2 separate regions of the Homo sapiens genome follow, and region 1 is linked to region 2. The links are contacts of gene promoters, found by promoter capture Hi-C in blood cells and fetal thymus (Javierre and others, 2016). All regions are on one chromosome and are shown on one strand. Each heading gives the region's core, a stretch centred on a gene start or on the middle of the fragment in contact. The rest is flanking DNA. Distances are from core to core; before and after follow the strand shown. Region 1 holds the start of GPHA2 (glycoprotein hormone subunit alpha 2). Region 2 holds the start of MIR6879 (microRNA 6879).

Region 1 (5,275 bases), core at 1,590-4,089, 83 kb before region 2:
AGGTGGAATGCTGTATGTGAAGGGCAGGGAAAGGGAGAGGTGGGCAAACCAAAGCTGTTTCATCTCCTCATCCCTCCTTGACACTGCCAAGAACCATCGTATCACTGATCTACAATGTGCTCAAGACCTTCATGGAGATGAATGGGAAGCTGTTTGATGAGCTCACAGCCTCCTACAAGCTGGAAAAGCAGCAGTGAGTGTTGGGGGCTGGGCGTGGGGGAAGGGAGAAGAGCAGGGAGGAGTCAGACCCCCATGGCTGGAGGGAACCCGAGGACTACCCCAAACTCTGTCTGATCAGATGCTGCAAGACTGTCCATGCTCCTGCCATCCTATGCCTGACTGTCTGCCCCTGTATCCTCCCGTCATTCTTCGAGTAGCTCAGACTTGTTCTGACTCCCTGTAGCTTCCTACAGAAGCCAGAACCACTCAGGCCCCACCCGTCATCTTCTCTGTGACTGCAGGCTGGGATCTGTCTGTCCTCTGCTCTCTTCCCTCAGTAGAGGGTTTTTATGGAGTCACAGAACAAAAATGGTTCCATGCCTTCCCTTTGCCGGTGGGGTGGTAGTGAGGGAGTCTGGACTGTGAGGGAGTCTGGACTGTGGGGGGCCCCAGGAAAGGGAGCTGCCTCACCCTCTCTCCCCAGGGAGCAGCAGAAGGCCCAGGAGCGTCAGGAGTTATGGCAAGGTCTGGAGGAGCTGCGGCTACGCCGGCTACAGGGGACCCAGGGGGCCAAGGAGGCCCCCCTCCAGCGGCTTACACCCCAGGTGGCCGCCAGTGGGGGTCAGAGCTAGACAGCACCTCAGAAGGGGAAAAGCTAAACCCAGAGCTGTCAGTCCCTCTATCCCTTCTCCTGTCCAGGGGCCCAGAGAGAAACACACCTACCCCTGGCCTTGCCAGAGTGGCTTCTGAGGACTCCCTGCCCAGCCCAGCTTTCACTGGGGGGAGACGAGGAGAGGCAATGGTGGTCTTGGCAACAGAATGCTCAGCCCCTCGTGGCAGGACTTGACAAGGGCAAGCTTGACCAGGAAGCTGCCATCAGGGATCTTCCCCTGCCCCGCAAAGCTAGGCTCCAGCTGCAGGCGGGCTCCCACCCTCTGCTCCTGGCCTTGGGCAAGGGCACTCAGCGCCTCGCCTGCCCCTGCCTTGGCCAATGCGAGGTCCTTCCTTATCCCCACCATGGGGTCCATGGTCTATTTATTCTCGCCCAGCTCACCCTCTACACAGACACTGTCCTGGGTGCACACTCCTCCCTTCCCTCGCTGTGTACTTCCTTGTCCCCTTTTTATTTATTGGGCAGGGGGAGGGGGAGGGCACAGGCAAGAAGAGATTCACAGTGTCCTGGGGTAAGGGGGGGTTCACAGTAATCATGGTCTACTCCTCTTTCCGTGGCTGGGGGTAGACTTAATAAAGAGAGAAATTCAAGAACTGCTTGCTTTATTTAGGGGTAAGGGCAAAGAGGGAAGTAAAATGATGAAAGATTGGTTTAGAAGGGCCAGGCAGAGGCAGGGAAGAAGCAGAAACTCCCCTCTTCTCAGGTGACAGTCACAAAATCTTACAAAGGATCAAAGCTGGAACAACCCTCCCCTTATTTAAAAAAATTCCATAGCAAGTAACCATCAGGGCTGGAGCTCCTTCCAGTTTTTGAATCTTGAACACAGGTTTCCCCCACCAGAACGTCAAGCCCTGTGACCCAGGGGAGGAAGGAGGGGAGAGGATGGGCTAGTAGCGAGAGAGGCGACACATGTCACACTGGCAGGCCCTGGCCGTGAAGATCTCGAGCTCCTCCCTCCGGCTCCCCACACACTGCAGCTGTACTTTGACCTGCGGGAGAGGGGAGTCCGTGCTGCAGTCCCCTTTCTCAGGGCTGTCTAGGATCTCCATCTCTCTGGTCTTCCCGCGACCCCAGCGTCCATCCACCGGGCCCGGGCCCTCCTCACCTTCTTCAGGCCACTGATGGTGCAGCACTGAGAGACGGAGGTGATGTTGTGTCGGTAACCACTGGCCACCAGCACAGAGTACCGAGAAGGGAAGGCGCTGGACTCACAGTGGCCCACACAGGCCTGTGCCACGTGGGAGCCCTGGCAGGTGCCTTGGCGGTCACTTCGCACTGTCACATTGAAGGCTAGAAGGAGATAGGCAAGCAGTAGACGGCGCCTCTGCCAAGGTTTGCCTCGCCCCAGCTCCCGTTGCCTGTGCCTCAGTGTGGGGCCCTTTAGGGTGCTGCCTGCCCCACCGTCCACTCAGCTCTTTGCTCCCACCCAGAACCTCCACTGCTCCTAGCCCTCCGGTCCCAGAGGTACTCACGGTGCAAGTGGCAGCCTGGGATGACTGCCTCCTGGCCCCAGGCTTCAGTGACTGCCAGGACCAGCAGATAGAGGACCAGGGTTTGAGGGGACGCCATAGGCATCTGAAACACAGTGGGGAGATGTCTCTACGTGGGTGTGCAGGTGGGATGGCGAGTTCTTTAAATACTGCATTCCAGGTGAGTGAGCCAGGGCTGGCTGGTCTGACAGGTGAGGTGTGCCTGAATGGTGCTGCCTTTTCCCTGTATCTGCCTTTGTGTGTGTGTGTGTGTGTGTATGGGTGTGAGTGTGAGCAGCTGTCTCTGGAAAGGACCTGTGTGTCAGCCCTCTGTGCAGTGATTCTCCCTTCCCTGGAATTTTCTTCGCCATCTGGAGCGCAAACATCTTCCTCCCTCCATCTGCCCCATCTTGGCCTGCAGGGCCCTCGTCCACATTCCCAGACCCTCCCCAGAGCTCCTCCTGCCTCAGCGAGCTCACCACTTCCGAGGCCCAGGAACAGAGCGGCTTGCAGTTTTCCTGTGCCTCCTGCTGGTCTCCAGCTTGGTGCTGGCTCTCCAGGCTTTTATTTGCCAGCATTTTGGAGCCACGCCCTCTTGGAGATCGGCTTTCAAACCAGCCTCCCCTGCCTGAAGCCTCAGAGCGATCCCACCTGGGGGATCTTGCTCTTTGAGGTGCGGTCCTCGGAGAGCAGCTCCTGCTGCTTTCTGCTTCTTTCTGTCCAAAAAGCTACCCACAGCCCAGGCCTCGATAAGTCAGATGTGGAGAGAAGCCTAGGAGCTGGTGGAGTGTGCAGCGTGTGTGCAGCTGACGACACAGGGGTCAAGACTCTTGGCTGAGTTGTGGACACCTGGGTTCTCTTTGCTCTGTGACCTTGGACAGAACATTTCCCTGTTCAGGGCCTGATCACCCCTAACTTTATTATTATTTATTACTATTATTTTGAGAGGGTCTGGCTCTGTCACCTAGGCTGGAGTGTGGTGGTGTTATCTCGGCTCACTGCAACCTCCACCTCCCAGCCTCCCAGACTCAAGCCATCCTCCCCCTTAGCCTCCTGAGTAGCTGGGACCACAGGCACACCACTATGACCAGCTAACTTTTGTATTTTTTTGTAGAGACAGGATTTTGCCATGTTGCCCATGGTGGTCTTGAACTGCTAAGCTCAAGTGATCCGCCTGCTTAGGCCTCCCAAAGTGCTAGAATTACAGGCATGAGACACTGTGCCTGGCCACACCCCTAATTTTAAAACCACTAAACTCAGTCCTGCTTGCCTTTTTCTAACTGCAAAGGAAAGGGATTGGGGAAGGAGATTCTTAGGGACAAGGGAAATTATACCAGTGGAGGTCTCCTGAGATGTGCTTGGTGGCAGGGCCGGGGGTTTGGGGGTTGCTGTCTGTTTCAGAGTTGCATGGCCACGGTATCAGTGGATGATTCGCATCCTGTGCTACAGAGTAACGTTCTGAGCTGGAGTGCTCCCCTAGCCCTGGAATAACAGGGACCTGACTCCTGAAAGGGCCTGAAGTTATCAACCCCAGCAAAGCTGATCTATTTGTCCAACTCTGGTTTTATAGATGAGGCAACTAAGGCTCAAAGAAAGAAAGTTACTAAAAGTCACCCAGCTAGTTAATGTTAGGGCTGATTTCAAATTCAAATCTGCTGTCCATCCATGGTGCTAAACTACACTTGAGCAAGAATGTGGCAAGCTGGAGAAAGACCCCCAGGCAGCAGTGGCCAGAGGGGTTGGGGCAAGGTGGAGAGCCAAAGGAAGCCTGTGGTGATTCTGGGCAGCCCCGCTTTGGGGTCATTGCCTCACTGATCTGCTCAGAAAGAGCAGGGCCAGTCACAGACTGCTAGAGCTAGAAGGCACTTTATAACTCACCAAATCCTACCCCCTCATTTTCTGGATGAGAAAATAAGAGCTCAGCGGAAAACAACTTCCCAAAGCTTCACTGTAAGCTAGTCAGAGTCAGGGCGGGCACTCACAGCTCCAGATTTGGAGCTGTGCTTCTTAGCAGCTTTGTAAAACAGGCCATGTTTGGGACAGTCGAGTAAAGGCTGTAAACGCAATTTGAGAGGAAGTGATGTTACTAATGTCACTAATCCTTAAATTCCCACACCCTACGGTTTCCCCATCAGCCCCCATCCCCTCAAGACCTGGGTCCTTGTTTGCCAGGTCCTCCGCAGCAGTCCACCTCTTCTCTTCTCCCCACCAAGGGTGCAGGCAGCATAGCAACAGGACGCAGCGGGAACTCAGCAGTTCAGCCCCTGCTCTCCCACTCTTGAGGGGCACCCTCTGGCATGTGACAGATGATGGCTTCTGTTTAAAGCATTTGGGTGACAAGGCTCATTACCTTATGAGGTAGCCCATTCTAATATTGGACATCTCTAACAGGTAAAAAGTGACTCCTTTGTTGTGAGCTAAAATGAGTTTCCCTACATTTCCATAGATCATTTTGGTTCTCCACGGCCACATGAGGCTAAAGTGTCTATTACAGATCAGTCCTTTAGTTGAAGGCAGCTCAGGTGGCCAGGCCTTCTCCAGGGGTGCCAACCTGGATTGACTTCCAGTTAATCTGATAAACGAATCTGCATTACTGTCAAACAGTTAAAGGGATAGAGAGGTGGGAAACATTTTGTCTATGGAGAGGCAACCATTTGGGGCCAAACTGGAACTGGGGAAGAGGTCTCTTGGGTGAGCAGGGCTCAGGACAGTGAGTCTTGAAAGACCCCATTCCCTAACCTCTGGCACAAACTCACCTACCCAAAGTGATCCTGTGAATAGTAACCAGGTAGACCTAGGGAAGTTTCATGCATTTTCTCTGTATCTTGAGGGAAGCATTTGTTCTCTTTTACTCTATTCCACTAAATTCAATCAATAACTCTTCATAAATAATTTATTGTCATTAGGATCCTAAGTGCCGAAGACAAAAGGCCTAAACCGGCCCTCAGGACATGAACATTTTAGAAAGTTCCAT
Region 2 (6,030 bases), core at 2,625-5,124:
GCGCGTGTGGGCTCCGCGGATCCTTTCGAGCGTGGATCCAACAGTCCGTCTCTTTGGTGTTACGCGGCCCGTGGTTGTCCCTGCGGCTGAGGATGTGTGTGTGTGGGCCCGAGTGTCCCGTGCGCCCTGTGCGCCTTCTGAGTCCAGTTAGGCGCCCGCACCTGTTCCCCCAGCTCTGTGCCAGGCTCCGCGGGGGAATGGCTGGGGAGATAAGACGCTTACGTGCACATATAACTTAATAATCACATCATGACTGTTTTGTTTTTTGAGACAGGGTCTTGCTCTGTTGCCCTGGCTGGAGTGCAGTGGCACAATCAAGGCTCACCGCAGCCTCCAGCTTCTAGGCTTAAGTGATCCTCCTGCCTCAGCCTCCCAAAACTCTGGGAATATAGGCATGAGCCACGGAGTCCGGCCCATGTCTGTTTTATTTTGTTTTGTTTGAGACGGAGTTTCGCTCTTGTTGCCCAGGCTGGAGTGCAGTGGCACAATCTCAGCTCGCTGCAACCTCCGCCCCCCGAGTTCAAGCAATTCTCCTGCCTCAGCCTCCCAAGTAGCTGGGATTACAGGTGCCCGCCACCACGCCCGGCTATTTTTTTAAATATTGTTAGTAGAGACGGGGTTTCACCTTGTTGGTCAGGCTGTTCTCGAATTCCTGACCTCAAGTGATCCACCCGCCTTGGCCTCCCAAACTGTTGGGATTATGGGCGTGAGCCACTGCGCCGGGCCGCATGTCTGCTTTAAAGAGCTCTAAGAAAAGCATACAGTTCACTCATTTGATAAATATTGAGTGCCTAATATGTGCTAGACACTGTCCTAGTGCCCAGGGTAATAAAACTAAAAAATCTTACCTTCATGGAAATTCTGTAATGCGTGTGTGTGTGTGTGGCGGGGGGGTTGCCCGCGGGTAGAAAGATGATAACACAGGAAGTAAGTAAAATATGTAATAGAGGCTGGGTGCGGTGGCACACACCTGTAACCCTAGCACTTTGGGAGGCTGAGGTGGGAGGTTCGCTTGAGCCCAGGTGTTTGAGACCAGCCTGGGCAACATAGTGAGACTCTGTCTCTATTTATACATATATATATTCTCCATACATACTATATATATATGGGCCATGCTTTGGACCATGCTTCTGGGGAACAGGGCCTTATACTGCTCCAGGATGAACTCCCACTACGTATATAGGTATGGAGAATAATGCAATTTAGGGTGGTCAAAGAAGGCCACTGTATGATGGCAGGGCGCAGTGGCTCATGCCTGTAATCCCAGCACTTTGAAAGGCCGGGGCGGATGGATCGCCTGATGTCAGGAGTTTTGAGACCAGTCTGGCCAACATGGTGAAATCCCGTCTCTACTGAAAATACAAAAATTAGCTGGATGTGGTGGTGGACACCTTTAATCCCAGCTACCTGGGAGGCTGAGGCAAGAGAATTGCCAGAACCCGGGAGGCGGAGACTGCAGTGAGCTGAGATCACGCCATTGCAGTCCAGCCTGGGTGACAAGAGCGAAACTCTGTTAAAAAAAAAAAAAATGACAATTGAGTACATGAGGGAGGCGAGGGTTGAACCATATAGCAATTCGGGGGGGGGGGAAACTTTAAAGCAAAGGGAACAGCAAGTCAGAGGCCCTGGGAGGACTAACTGGCGTGTTCAGAGGACTGGTGAGGAGGGCAGTATGGCTGGAGTGGGGAGGAGGAGCGTTGACTGGGAACCCCCTCACCTAGGGCCTTTTGGTTTTTGGTTTTCCCTTTCAGTGAGAAGTGCAGTGGAGAGAAGGAATCGCAGACCAGTTAGGCCACTGCAGTGACGCAGGCGAGATAGGATGGTGGCTTGGACCAGGATGGAAGTAGTGAGGTCATGGAAGTTTCTGGCCTGAGCAATTAGAAGGGTGAGGAACCATTTGCTGAGATGGAGAGGACTGGGGGAGGAGCAGGTTCAGGGTGGAGATGAGAACCCTGTGTGTGCCTGTGTGTGCCATGTGAGATGCCTCCGAGACAGCCCAGAAGTGTCAGGCAGGCAGCTGGATGTAGGCACTGAGGTCCAGTGTGTGGGAGGTGCACATTTGGGTGTTATCAGGATAGAGATGGTATTTGAAGCTGTGATCCTGGATGAGGTCACCCAGGGATGAGCGTGGCCAGAGAAGAGAACCCGGTTGTACCAGGATGAAGTCAGGTGAGGAGCAGAACCAGGTGAGGGTGTGTCCCAGTGCCAAGGGCAGCGCATGTGCTGGGGAGGAGGGTGAGCCACTCCATCAGGTGCTGAGTGGGGAACAGAAGATGACTGAGCGCTGTCCCAGCACTAGAGGGCCACAGGGAGGTCTTTGGGGACTGACCTTGGTAAGGACAGTTTTGGCCACAGCAGCAGCAAAAGCCTGATGGGAGTGTGTTCTTGAAAGAGCAAGAAGGCAGAAATGGGGGTGAGCACAAACAACTATTTTGAGATTTCCTGTAAAAGGAAAGATATAAATGAATAACTAGATGGGGCAGAGAGATCAAGGGCTTTGTTTGCTCTTTTTTTTTTTTTAATCAGACGGGGTCTCGCTGAGTCGCCCAGGCTGGAGTACAGTGGTGTGATCTCGGCTCATTGCAACCTCTGCCTGCCGGGTTCAAGCAATTCTCCTGTCTCAGCCTCCCGAGTAGCTGGGACTATAGGGGCCCGCCACCACGCCTGGCTGATTTTTGTAGTTTTAGTAGAGATGGGGTTTCACCTTGTTGGTCAGGCTGGTTTCGAACTCCTGACCTCAGATGATCCACCCACCTTGGCCTCCCAAAGTGCTGGGATTACAGGTGTGAGCCACCGCGCCCGGCCTATTTGCTCTTTTTAAGGTGGGAGAAAGAACGGCAAGCTCATCAGCCAGTGGGAATGATCAAGAGGGGAAGGAAACATGGATGATGGCTTGGGGGCAGGGGGTCATCAGCGGCTAGGTTCCAGGGGCTAAGGCTGGGCCTCAGGGGAAATGCCCTCCTCACCCCTCTCCTGGGCCTAGGTCATTTGCCCCAGCTCCGATGAGCAGGGAAAGGTGGTCGAGTCCAGGACCCGCCCACCCCACCATGCCCAACTGAGCTGCAGTGTTGGGAAGATAGAGGAGGGTGGTTCCTTCCACAGGTAAGCACACCCATTAATTTGCACTGTGCAGTAGCAGGTCTGGAATATTCCAGAAACAAATGAGGGTGGCTGCCTCCAGATATTTGTTCTTACCTTAGTTCTTCAAAAAGCTTGCTCCTTGTATTTTGGGTCTCAGCTCCAGACACCTCAGAGAGGCCTTCCCCGGCACCTGAGCTGAAAGAGCCTCCTCCGATGGCCCTCTTGGAAAGCCTCTCTGTTGTGTTGATGGCGCTAGCCGGGATCTGGCAGGGCCTTCTTTTCTCATTTGTTTGTACTTTATTGACTGTCTTCCCGCTAGAGTGTAAGCTTCCTAAGGGCAGGGCTTTGTCCTCTAGCACCCAGAAGAGGGTCTGGCACATAGTAGGTGTTCAACAAATTAAGGAGCCTTTGGTCAGTAGAGATGATATTTATAATTTGATACTTTCATATTTATTGTGGGCCGATTATGGTCAGGCATGTGCTCAACTCAGTTTGATACATGGTGGGAAATAATGAGTCCCCTAAGGGGCTCTGCAACAATGTCACCACCTGGCAGAGAACAGGGACTTCTCCTTAACCTGCTGCGCCCCAGTGGCCTGGACAATGCTGGAAAGACAACCATCCTGAAGAAGTTCAATGGGGAGGACATCGACACCATCTCCCCAACGCTGGGCTTCAACATCAAGACCCTGGAGCACCGAGGGTGAGCAGGGGCCCCATGGGAGGGCCAGCCCAGAGCAGGGCAGGGAAGGTGGGAGAGGGGCCCAGCTGACCCTCCTGTCACCCGCTCCTTGCCCAGATTCAAGCTGAACATCTGGGATGTGGGTGGCCAGAAGTCCCTGCGGTCCTACTGGCGGAACTACTTTGAGAGCACCGATGGCCTCATCTGGGTAGTGGACAGCGCAGACCGCCAGCGCATGCAGGACTGCCAGCGGGAGCTCCAGAGCCTGCTGGTGGAGGAGGTGGGCAGCTCCTACCCTTTGTGTACATGTATGGACGTGTGGCTGCCTTCTCAGCAGATGCCCAGAGGGGCCCGTGGCCCCAGAGGGAAACCAGAGGCAGGATCCCTTCCTTCTCTGGGCCCCCACCATGGGAGGCCCATGGTGCCAGAGGCAGGACACATGCTGTGGACTGAGATTGAGTTAACGTCCCTGTGGTGTTACTACGTCACTACCCTGAGCATCAGTTTCTATGCCTTGAAATGGTGATGATGACACCCACATCACTGGGCTTTAGGGAGGATAACCCAAGGCCAGTATGAAGCTTCGAGAGGCCATGGAGCCTGGCTCAAGAGTCTGACTCTTTGCTGTGTGACCTCAGCTGGGGGTGGTGGCACGCACCTATAGTCCTAGCTACTCTGGAGGCTCAGACAGGAGGATCAGTTGAGCCCAGGAGGTTGAGGCTGCAGTGAGCTGTGATCGTGCCACTGCACTCCAGCCTCCTGGGCGACAGAGCAAGACCCTGTCTCAAAAAAAAAAAAAAAGGAAGGGGCCAGGTGCGGTGGCTCACGCCTGTAATCCCAGCACTTTGGGAGGCTGAAGCGGGCGGATCACGAGGTCAGGAGATCGAGACCGTCCTGGCTAACATGGTGAAACCCCGTGTCTACTAAAAATACAAAAAATTAGCCAGGCATGGTGGCGGGCGCCTGTAGTCCCAGCTACTCAGGAGGCTGAGGCAGGAAAATGGCGTGAACCTGGGAGGCGGAGCTTGCAGTGAGCCGAGATTGTGCCACTGCACTCCAGCCTGGGCAACAGAGTGAGACTCCGTCTCAAAAAAAAAAAAGAAGGACACTTGCAAAGATAGTACAGAGGTCAGAGGTCCCCCATATACCCTTTACCTTGCTTCCCCATCTTACCTAACCGTGGCCTGTCCAAACTAATAAATCAACACTGGTGAATTACTATTATCTTAATTACAGATTTTATTTGAATTTCACGTTTTTCCACTAATATACTTTTTGTGTTCCAATGTTTGATTCAGGCTACAAAATTGCATTTAGTTGAAAATGAGGACACTTGTGAGAGTGAAAGGGGGGATTCTGCAGGCAGAGTGGGGACTGTCCTGGGCACACCGCACACATCTCCTATGTGGGTGGAGCAGGTCAGATGAGATCAGGGCCGTCAAATGCTGGTCAAGGCAGGTCAAGGCCCAAGGGTTAGACCCGTCCACCCACATCTCTCCCAATCACAGACACATATGTGGAAACAACTAGAATCAGAGGTGGACAGTGAGGCCTGTCGGGAGTGGAACGGTTAAAGGGCTGTGTGAACCCAGAAGAGGGAGAGTTCACATCCTCTGTGCATGTCTGGTCATCAGATTGGAGCAGTCTAGAACCACGGAGAGCTCAGGGATCATCTTATGCAACACCCCTCCCTGTTCATGGAAGAGGAAGCTGGAGCATGGGGACAGCGGTGTCCCCTGGGTGGTGGTTGGCTGGAACCAGAACCCTGGCCCAGGGCTGCTCCATTCATGTGGGCCAGCCTTGATGGCTACGTCCACAAACTCACTCCTGGGCCTCTCCCACCACCACGGGGCCTCACCTTGATCTTCCAGGTCGATCCTTCACCCCAGATGCTCTGGGCCATTAGAGGAGGGGTCAGGCTGTCCTCTGAGTCCCCACCCCACCCCTCTATCTTTTCTCCCCCAGCGCCTGGCCGGAGCAACCCTCCTCATCTTTGCTAATAAGCAGGACCTGCCTGGAGCACTGTCCTCTAACGCCATCCGCGAGGTGAGTCCAGGCCCCGGGACAGGCTCGCTGAGGGAAAGGGGCATACATTTATTTATTTTAAAAGCATTTATTAAAAATAACCAAAAAGGCTGGGTGCAGTGGCTCACGCCTGTAATACCAGCACTTTGGGAGGCCAAGGCGAGTGGATCACCTGAGGTCAGGAGTTCGAGACCAGCCTGACCAACATGATGAAACCCCGTCTGTACTAAAAATACAAAAAT

What was found. The method cuts DNA at HindIII sites, captures the fragments that hold promoters and counts their contacts. A CHiCAGO score of 5 or more calls a contact.
Region 1: the fragment with the promoter of GPHA2 here is called in contact with a fragment that was not itself captured in region 2 in 1 of 17 cell types (endothelial precursors); the score reaches 5.5 in endothelial precursors.

The regions. Positions count from the first base shown.
Region 1 is chr11:64,933,054-64,938,328 of GRCh38, forward strand. It overlaps GPHA2 (glycoprotein hormone subunit alpha 2), which reads right to left and starts at 2,840. Exons shown (of 4, transcript NM_130769.4): 1 at 2,781-2,840; 2 at 2,305-2,407; 3 at 1,938-2,122; 4 at 1,418-1,821. The coding sequence starts at 2,407. The coding sequence ends at 1,720. PPP2R5B (protein phosphatase 2 regulatory subunit B'beta) reads left to right here. Exons shown (of 14, transcript NM_006244.4): 13 at 92-193; 14 at 644-1,422. The coding sequence ends at 791. MAJIN (membrane anchored junction protein) reads right to left here. Exons shown (of 11, transcript NM_001037225.3): 11 at 5,177-5,275. The HindIII fragment of the contact is 3,228 bases long and covers 1,015-4,242 here.
Region 2 is chr11:65,014,691-65,020,720 of GRCh38, forward strand. It overlaps ARL2 (ARF like GTPase 2), which reads left to right. Exons shown (of 5, transcript NM_001667.4): 2 at 3,674-3,784; 3 at 3,881-4,043; 4 at 5,729-5,809. It overlaps ARL2-SNX15 (ARL2-SNX15 readthrough (NMD candidate)), which reads left to right. Exons shown (of 11, transcript NR_037650.2): 2 at 3,674-3,784; 3 at 3,881-4,043. It overlaps MIR6879 (microRNA 6879), which reads left to right and starts at 3,815; the gene lies at 3,815-3,880. RefSeq lists a silencer at 1-76. The HindIII fragment of the contact is 936 bases long and covers 3,407-4,342 here.